Linked DNA regions of Homo sapiens: region 1 is linked to region 2. Evidence: promoter capture Hi-C in human tissues and cell types (Jung and others, 2019). All regions are on one chromosome and are shown on one strand. Each heading gives the region's core, a stretch centred on a gene start or on the middle of the fragment in contact. The rest is flanking DNA. Distances are from core to core; before and after follow the strand shown.

Region 1 (4,451 bases), core at 795-3,294, 990 kb after region 2:
AGAGTGCTGGGATCACAGGGGTGAGCCACTGCGCCCGGCCTCTAACAGTTTCTATTTCACCTGAAGTACTTATGTAACAGGAGGTATGGGCCAAACAACTCCTTGTTTGGCTAGGAGAAAATCTACGGCAACTTTATTATCTAGTACTACTTGAGCCAAGGAGTTTAGAGACTTTTGTTGAGCTACAAGGCTTTTTGCAGTGTCTGCAGCTATCTTGAGGTGGGAAATTAAAGAAAAATAAAATTAAAAAGATAGAGAAATAAGTTTTCCTGTATTAGACTGACTTGTCCCAGAGGCGGCAACAGGCACAACCCAGACCCAGGAAAAGTCTTGATAATGGTATCTAATGTGCTGTGGAGACTCTCCCAGCACTCCCTCAACATAAGGAGAAGAAAAACAAATTTTCCTTTGCTTTATGGTATGAGTTTATAGATTCTTGTTCTCTGTAACTAGTAACTTCAAGTATTCTGTTTTATCTAAGAAGTACAACAAAGGTCACGAGAAGCCTGAGTAGGCCTGAACTACAGCTGCCTGGGCCCCACAGTGAAGGTTATGGGATAAGCCCGTGCCTAGGCAAACCTAGATAACGGACACCTGGGTTGCTTGGCAATGGTCATGAGCAATCCTGAGTCTGTCCTGCCTCTGTATCCCTGCTTTCACACCACTGTAAGCTTGCTTCAAGCTAGCCCACACCCTTTTGTGAAGTGTGTATAAAAGTCAAGTGCTGTCTTTGTTTCGGGCTCAGTCTTTGGACCTGAGTCTGCTGGGCCTGAGTGCACTCAATAAAAGATTCTCCTGTTTCAACCCGAGGTCTCTCATACTCCTAAATCCCGCAACAATGTGACTAATAGTGGCAAAGACTTTTCAAATCATATCCTTATTGACATAAATCCCAACACTCGGAATTAATATTCCCAGGATGCTTTGATCTGTATCACCTTCACACCCTGCCAACACAGACCTTTTAGTTTAATAATGGAGAGAAAGGGGGTCCTTCTGTAAGTTTGTGTAAGGATACGGGGGGTTACAAAATATCTCAGCAAGCATGAACCTTCTAACTGTAGGCTGCCGAGGCAACAGTGTGCCCAAAGCTGTGCAGGTGGATCAGACCTTATGCCACATACAAACACACAGCCTGAATGGGGGGCACAAGTGATACTCCTGAGGATGTCTTAATTAGCAGATGTATTCATGCGGAGTGCTGACATCACCAAACTAAACTATGGGCCATTTCTCTTGCAAGCTTTCCAGAATCCACTCACTTATTTTAAATGTAAATATTGTGGGCACTGTAGGGATATATTTTTAACTTTATTTATCTGATGTAGATGACACTTGTCTATCCAGTAGTTCATAGGTCAAGAAGGTCCCATGGTAGGCCGGGTGCAGTGGCTCATGTCTGTAATCCCAGCACTCTGGGAGGCCAAGGCAGGTGGATTACTTGAGGTCAGGAGTTTAAGACCAGCCTGGCCAACACAGTGAAATCCAGTCTCTACTAAAAATACAAAAATTAGTTGGGCATGGTGGCAGGTGCCTGTAATCCCAGCTCTTGGGATGCTGAGGCAGGAGAATCGCTTGAACCCGGGAGGCGGAGGTTATAGTGAGCTGAGATCTCACCACTGCACTCCAGCCTGGGTAACAGGCCAAGACTCAGTCTCAAAAAAAAACCATAAAAAACCCAAAGAACAACAACAACAAAGAAGGTCCCATGGTAAAGAATGGGTTTCCAATGTTAAAAACACAGGACACATCAAAACAAGGGGTGACAATATCTGGGCTTTGAAGGAATTGGACCTGGAAAATCAACAGGGAAAGGGGTTGGTCTGGGTAAGTGGTGACATTAGGGACATCTGAGCAGTCAGTGACAGATATTACCAATGGCACATATCTATTATGAATGGATCAAGGAAGTTGTTGGCAAATCCAGCAATCCAATAGGTTTCCTTCTACTAGCAACATGTGGGACAGCTTAACTAAAGTGTTATCATGCCATTCTCTGCATTGAGACAAGACAGAGGGACAATTGCAAAGAGAGGGAAAGGTGACAGTGCAGGTATGAGTAAAAGGAATGGAGGGAACAGCCATTTAACAATTCAGAAAACTGAACCAAGGGAAAAACCATAAATCCCATACAAATCCAAGGGGATTATCTGACAAACTTAAGGGACTGTCCTTAAGTAAGAGAACATCTCACTACAGGAACAAAGCAATGATGTCCTCAGGAGTGGGGGTCATAAGCCCTGCTCAGTTCTGATAAAGACAAGAAGAGGAAGCACACAGGTAGCTAAACATCGAAGTTATCTAGCAGAAAGGCATGGAACAAATTCTATTAGTTTAGATAGAGGCAAATTATTAAATGAGACCCAGTGTCTTTGAATACAGTCCTGGCCCTGGGTCTCATGAAAGCAGTTTATGTTGACTATTGCCTTTTTCTGGGTCTAAAGATGAGGCTCTGGTTAACTGAAGTCTCGTGTAGAGACTGGCACCAACTTCCAAGATTCAGCAAGGGTTGTTGTTTTCAGATGAGACATGTGCGACCAGGAGTCAATCTCTATAACTTAGCAGCACAAGGATTAATTAATAGCACCCATCCAGTAGGCTGGATGAAGTATTTTAACTGATGTCTCTTCCACTACTTGTCATCACCAAGCTGGAGGTGGTAATACTGGAGTTTATGGCCTGTTGGGAAGCTGTAAAAAGATTCTACAACTTGCAGTGACTGATCTTTATAGCTTTAACAAGCCCCTGGCAATAAGCCTAAAGTTCCCTCCTGTCATTTGGCAGGAGAAAATATTTCCTGGTCTAAGTGCACAGACCAACCAGTAACAATTTCAAAAGGGGAGAGCTGACATTTACTGGTGGGAATGGACTGCAGAATCAGTAATGCTAATGGGAGAGCTTTAGGCAAGGACAGGTTAAGTTTCTGTAACTTTCGCCAGCTCGCTTTCAATGATCCCATTAGACTGTTCAACTAGCCCAGAGGACTGGGGGTAATAGGCACAGTGAAAGTGCTGTAAAAGGGCAGATTTAAAAAACTTGTTCTAGTATTTGGCAGGTAAAATGAGTGCCTCTGTCGCTGTGGAATTCAGTGGGAACACCCTAGATAGGAATGGTTTTTCTCAAGCAGCATTTTGGCCACCACCATAGCTGTTGCTTGTTTACAGGTGAAAGACCTACCTCAATGAGAATACATCGTCAACCATTAGAAGAACAAAATTTAATCTGTGGGATGGTGGTAACTAAATGAAATCAAGTTGTCACATGGTTAAGGGACCCTAGGGGAGAGGAAATTGTCCTGGAGGGAGCTTCAGGAGTTCACCTGGGTTATACTGAGGGTAGATATTGCAAAGTTTACATAGCGGTGGGGCAAGAGCTGGAGAGAGCCACCATACAGTAGTACTGTCTACCCCACTGAATCATTTTGTCTGGATTCTAATGGGTTAGATTATGTATGAAGGTTGTTTGTCTTTGCAGGGTGCTGGGTAGGACTGGATGTCCATTTGGACCTTCCTGTAATTTTGTCTGGGGATTGCAAGCGCAATTTTGTTTCATCCATTTCCCTCTTCCAGACTCCAAGACTGTCTTTTGTGAAAATAAGTCTGGAAAGGTCTTCAGATGGGGAGGGGAGCAAGGAAGAAGGAAGAGCAAGGGGGGGAGGAGGAGGAGGAGGAGGAGGAGTGGGTTGAGTACAACTCGGGAAGGAGCCACATGCTGGGTGGCAGCTTTAGCTGCTGCATCCACTAGGTGGTTGCCTTCGCTGTCTTCTGTCTTGTCAGAGAAATGTCCTTCGACTATGATAACGGCTAGGGCTCAATGAGCCTGAATGGCATCTAAGAGAAACAAAACAGTCTTTGTTTTTGTTTTTTTCTGAGACAGAGTCTCACTCTGTCGCCCGGGCTGGAGTGCAGTGGTGCAATCTCAGCTCACTGCAGCCTCCACCTCCCAGGCTCAAGTGATTCTCCTGCCTCAGCCTCCCACATAGCTGGGATTACAGGTGCATGCCACCACGTCTGGCTAATTTTTGTGTTTTTTATAGAGACGAGGTTTCACCATGTTGGTCAGGCTGGTCTCAAACTCCTGACCTCAAGTGATCCACCTGCCTCGGCTTCCCAAAGTGCTAGGATTACAGGCGTGAGCCACTGCACCTGGCCTAGTCTTTGTTCTTAATAGGTTGTCCAGAGGAAGTAAAAAATCCTCTTTGTTTCTAGAGCATGCCAAAATCATGGGCAACTCCAAAGACATACGTGCTGTCTGCATAAATATTAACCGTTTCACCCCAGGCCAGTAGGCAGGCCCAAGTGAGGGGATGCTAATTCTGCTCGTTGGGCAGATCGGGCAGTTGGCTGGGGGCCTGATTCAATGATTCCCATCACAGAGACCACCACATAGGCTGCATAATGGAAGCCAGCAGAATTTTTGAGAAAGGATCCATTAGTGGGTAAGGGGGTCTC
Region 2 (4,649 bases), core at 2,104-4,603:
CAATGACAGAAGTGTAGGCTTAGAAAAGAGTGGCAGAGGCTCAGACAGCTTAGGTTACTCATCCTGGGGGTGGGCGGTGAGGGGGTGGTTGCTGAGGAAGGCTGTGCGGGTGCCTGAACCACCACTTCCTTGAAGCATTCTTGGATCATCCCAATTCACGCCAAGCTCTTTCCTTGCATTTTAAATCTGCCCCAGCATATTTAACACTTGCCATTCCCCTTCTATTTTATATAATTTCAACATTTTTGAGAAGGGGTCCTGCTTTAAGCTTATCTTAAATCCTCCCATGATCTCACTCCTGGACACATGGCTGGGACTGGATTTGTAACATTCTACACTGGAGAAGGTTGGAGTCCTAGACCACAGAGAAGATGGCCAGCTGAGTCCAGAATAGGTGTGCTGTGTGGACAAGACTTGGTCAACACGAAACAATAACCCCAGGCTGAAAACCACCAAATGCATCCTTCATCCCGGGCTCTTGTTTGGGCCGTTTGCAGAATGGTCTGTGGAATTAGAGAAGTCAGTCTACCATGTCTCTGTAGTTCTCTGTTTCACGGTCCCTCCCCGCTTAAGGGCCTGCCTTTTGTTTTCTCATAACAGGAGAGGCATTCAGCTTCACCTGTGCAGGCAGGCACGCAGTCCAAACCTGACATCACGGGGAAACATCACCAAGACCAAAAACAGTGAGGATATTTGAGATGACAAACCCAGACCACAGAAGGCCAACTGCTTTTAAGAAGTTGCAGGCTTCTCATGCTAAGCAGGGAAGGGATTGTTTACAGTTGCTGGAAAAAAAAATACCCTGCAAACAAACAGCCAGCTGCTTTGCTAGGAGGCTACCAAATGATTCCTAAACGCTGACTCAAAGGACCACAGGTGGTCAGTATATCAATGACTATTTGCGGTAATGATGATGGATGTGACAGCTCCAGCTCAGGTGTGAAATGGGAAGAAAAAGAGGCTCATGAACAGGACACGGGAGGGGGGCTGTGCAGGAAACCACCTGATTCCAGCCCAGTCTAAACTTTTGTGGTAAGTTAAGACCATCTTCAGGTCTTCCATACTGTGAAGACAGAGATACCACTATTTCTAAAGGAGAGTGACACCAGTTTCTCTCCTGATGCCGGTATAGGGTATTTTAAAACAAATTTTAAATTTTTATTTATTTTTAGAGACAGGGTCTCGCTCTGTGGCCCAGGCTGGAGCGCAGTGGCACAGTCATGACTCGCTGCAGCCTTGAACTTCTGAGCACAAGCCATCCTCCCACCTCAGCCTCCCGAGTAGGGTAAGTATTAATACGACCCTACATTTTAAATCTTCTGCTGAACTCAATCATCTGTTCTCCACTGAGGAGCATCCTGCAATTATATTTGGGTGAGCAGCTCTAACATGACTCTTCAGACCCTTTCGGCACTTTTCTAGAAAGAACCTGAACTTGTATACAGAAATAAAGTACCAACATATTAGATCATTGTCCTTAGGAACAAGGAGGAAGGAAGGAAGGTTCCCATTTTGTTGAGGGAGAATAATTTAGGCATAATTGGTAACTCCAGTCGATAAAAGACATAGTCTGTCAATAGCAGTTGGTCTTACTTTCCCGTAAATAAATTACTTGATTTTACGTAAATAAGATTTCCTTATGGTGGTCCCTAAACTCCCCTGGGACAGCCTCCAAGTAACTCCAACGTAAATGGTTATATGCTGGTGGTTAATACGCTCAAGTCTCTCCGGACAGACCCCCAGAATTAAATAATGTCTTTCTTTACATTGTGAGACAATGGGAATTTGATGCATTACAAATCACAAACAAATGGGAGGCACGGGAGTTCAAGTTGCCAAAATAACCACATTTTCTTGATAGTTTTCTCAAAATTTATTGCCAATGCTTCATCCAAGCAACGACTGGTAAATCTCAGTAAGCGGGAACCTGGCCCAGAAACAGAATTCTCCATTGAAGTCAATTTAAGGGTGCAGGGGCCCATGGTTTTAACCAAAGGTGGCAGGAAAAGGCTCCCAAGGGTGACTCTGGCTGCACCAGTCCATTCTGGAATCACTTTCATCGCCCCCGCTCACCGGGCTAAATGCTGAGAGTCTCTGAAAGTCAACTGTCGAGGTCAGGGGCTGAGAAATTCCAGGCTACCTTGCGTACTAGCCGGCGCTGGCATCGTTAGCCAAGCTGAGCAGGGAGCGCAGCGGACCTCAGGTTTCCCGCCAGACCACAGAGCTCAGGTGAGGCCTCGAATCCAGAGGCTCACCGGGGCCAGGCAGGCTTTTCGCAGCTGACAGGCACCCCTGGAAACGGAGTGCACTCTATACAAAGCAGACCGACCGAGAGGGCCACCGAGGAAACAGGTGCAAGAGCCCTGTCCTCCCAGAAGCAGAGCTCTTGTGGGATTCATCCCCTGCCCCCTTCCCTCCTTTGCACCTCTGCAGCCCCAAGCCTCCACCGCTCGCAAGTCCGCCCAGTAAGCGGCTGCCCCAGGGACCATCTGGCCGTCCCTTCCTGGTTACTCATCCTCCCGGCCACTTCGTGGTTGCCCGTGCCTGGGCAGGGCCTGGAAGCGCTCCAGGCGGGACCTTCGTCGGATCCCGTCACCTGTCGCGTCCACAGCGCTTGGGCGCTGGGAGCCGGGCCACCCCGCGGTGAAGGGGCTCAGCCCACCCGCCCGCGCCCCCACATGGGCAAAGTGCGCGACTCCGGTGTCCTTAAAGCAGGGACCACTAAAGCTGTGTGATTAAGTTTGAGCGAACGTTTGGGGACACGATCCGCGAATGTCATCAGACTCTCAGAGGGACCAGGTGTTCTGTAAGGAGTCGTGTCCACTTGGAGACACTGACCTTGAACAATAAGAGAAACCGAATTCCCTGTCTCCGGTGGTCCGAAGACCTCTGCAGAAATCGGGCCCCGTAGTCCCACCCTCCGGGTCAGGGTCTCCCTCCTCAGCCCGCTCCAGCCCTGCCTGCCCCTCATTCGCCGTCCCTGCGCCCCCCAGACCAGCCCGGGTCAGTTTCGCGGGGGCTGGAAGTTGGTAGCGGGTCCCCTCACCTGCTGAGGTCGCTCACGAAACTGCCGCTCTTCTCATCCAGGAAGCGCTTCCAGCCGTCGGCCGTCTTCACCCAGTTCTGCCCGGGGGACCGCCAGTCCTGCCCGAGGAATGGCATGGCACCGCGAGCGGACTAGACGGATGGGGAGACGGGGCCGGCCTGGTGGGCTCGGGGACGTGCCACCCGGGGCGGATGCTCGGGGTGCAGGGGCCCGCGACGGGGGCGGCGGGGCGGCGGGAACGGCGCGGGGCACCCTGCGGGGTGGCGGGCGCGGAGAGGATCTCAAGCGTTGCAGGCTCCGGGAGTGCTGCGCGGCAGTAGCTGCCGCAGTATTTATCCCCGCAGCCGGCCGCAGCTCTTTGTTGCCGGAAGAGCCGCCCGCTCTTAGCCCGGCCCCCCGGCCCGGAGGCCACGTGGCTTTGTTTATGGGCTCGGCTTGTTTTCCGAGGCGCCTGCGGCTCACGCTCCCCTCCCGGTTGCACAACCGCGCCGGTGGAAACTTGAAGCGGTGCTGCCGGGCCGGGTACCCCGCCGCCCCTGGCACCTCCGCGCGCCCTCCCCGCCCCCAGGACACCGTTGTCCCAGAGCGAGGCCCGGCGCTTGGAAAGATGCGCCCCGGTCTCCTGCAGCTCCCGGGCTGACGGGGTGCAGGGAGGGGGCCGGAGGGGCGTCTGGGTCCCTGCGGGGTGGGCGTGAGGAGCAGGGCCAGCCCCCCTCCTGCCCCCGAGCTATCAGGATCGACCTCCGCAGCCAGATCAGCCTCCCGGGCCGTCCGCAGAGCTGGGGCCGGCACCGCGCCCGCCGGGCGGGGAGTAGGGGGCGCAGCCTCCTGACCTCGCTCACTGCCCCAACCCCGCCCTAGCGCGCGGGGGTTGGAGCGGGGAGGAGGGACAGCCTCCCAGCCCTCCGGGCCCCTTAGCTGTCACTAACCAGTCCTCCTTCAGACCTGCCCCTGGGGCAGCAAAGGAGGGGAAGGAGAGGAAGCCCTGGGAGGTATCTGGCTCCCGCAGGTTGGGAGTGGAGAAAAAGAACAGCGCCCCTATCCTACCCGAACCCTCTAAGAGACGGGTTAAATGATGTACCCAGGGCCAATGCTACAGTACAATCTGAAACTACCCTGTTTGCTTTTACTTTTTGCTGTTGTTACAACAATCTACCCCTGTCTGCAGTGGGAACTCCATGAGAGCTGGTCTGTCTTGTTCCGGAGGCATTTCAGCCCCTGCACCCTGCCAGGCCCAGTGCAGGCCTTCAACAACTATTTGTGTGAATAAGTGAATGGATACGGGAGGCTGCTGGCATGAGGGTGGCTTCTTGCCCTTCATCACCTCTAGTTATGATGCTTTACAGCCTGGTCTATTTGGCAATTAGTTTGCACAGGACAGCAGCAGCAGAGTAAAAATCCCATACTCAAGCATTAGCTTCAAACTTCATTCTTCCATTCTTCTTTCTCTGCAGCCATCAATATCATCTAGTCCACTGACTCGGTGTAATCTTTAAGGCTCAGGCAAAGAAATTGTGTGTGCCCTATGAGGCTACATGTTGGACTGGGAAGACGTTTTTAATAAAGTTTGTTTTCAAGAAGCCAGAGCTTTCTGATTTAGATT

What was found. Contacts are between HindIII fragments. The study calls those that stand out against the background at their distance.
Region 1: a contact is called between a fragment that was not itself captured here and the fragment with the promoter of FBXO32 in region 2, in 1 of the 25 tissues and cell types used here (dorsolateral prefrontal cortex).

What each region holds. Positions count from the first base shown.
Region 1 is chr8:124,528,433-124,532,883 of GRCh38, forward strand. The region is part of intron 1 of TATDN1 (TatD DNase domain containing 1); the gene reads right to left. Among named protein-coding and RNA genes, the nearest start is that of TATDN1, 8.4 kb to the right of the region's middle. The HindIII fragment of the contact is 4,550 bases long and covers 1-4,319 here.
Region 2 is chr8:123,537,853-123,542,501 of GRCh38, forward strand. It overlaps FBXO32 (F-box protein 32), which reads right to left and starts at 3,354. Exons shown (of 9, transcript NM_058229.4): 1 at 3,047-3,354. The coding sequence starts at 3,162. RefSeq lists silencers at 3,251-3,340, 3,391-3,500, 3,591-3,880. The HindIII fragment of the contact is 9,982 bases long and covers 1-4,649 here.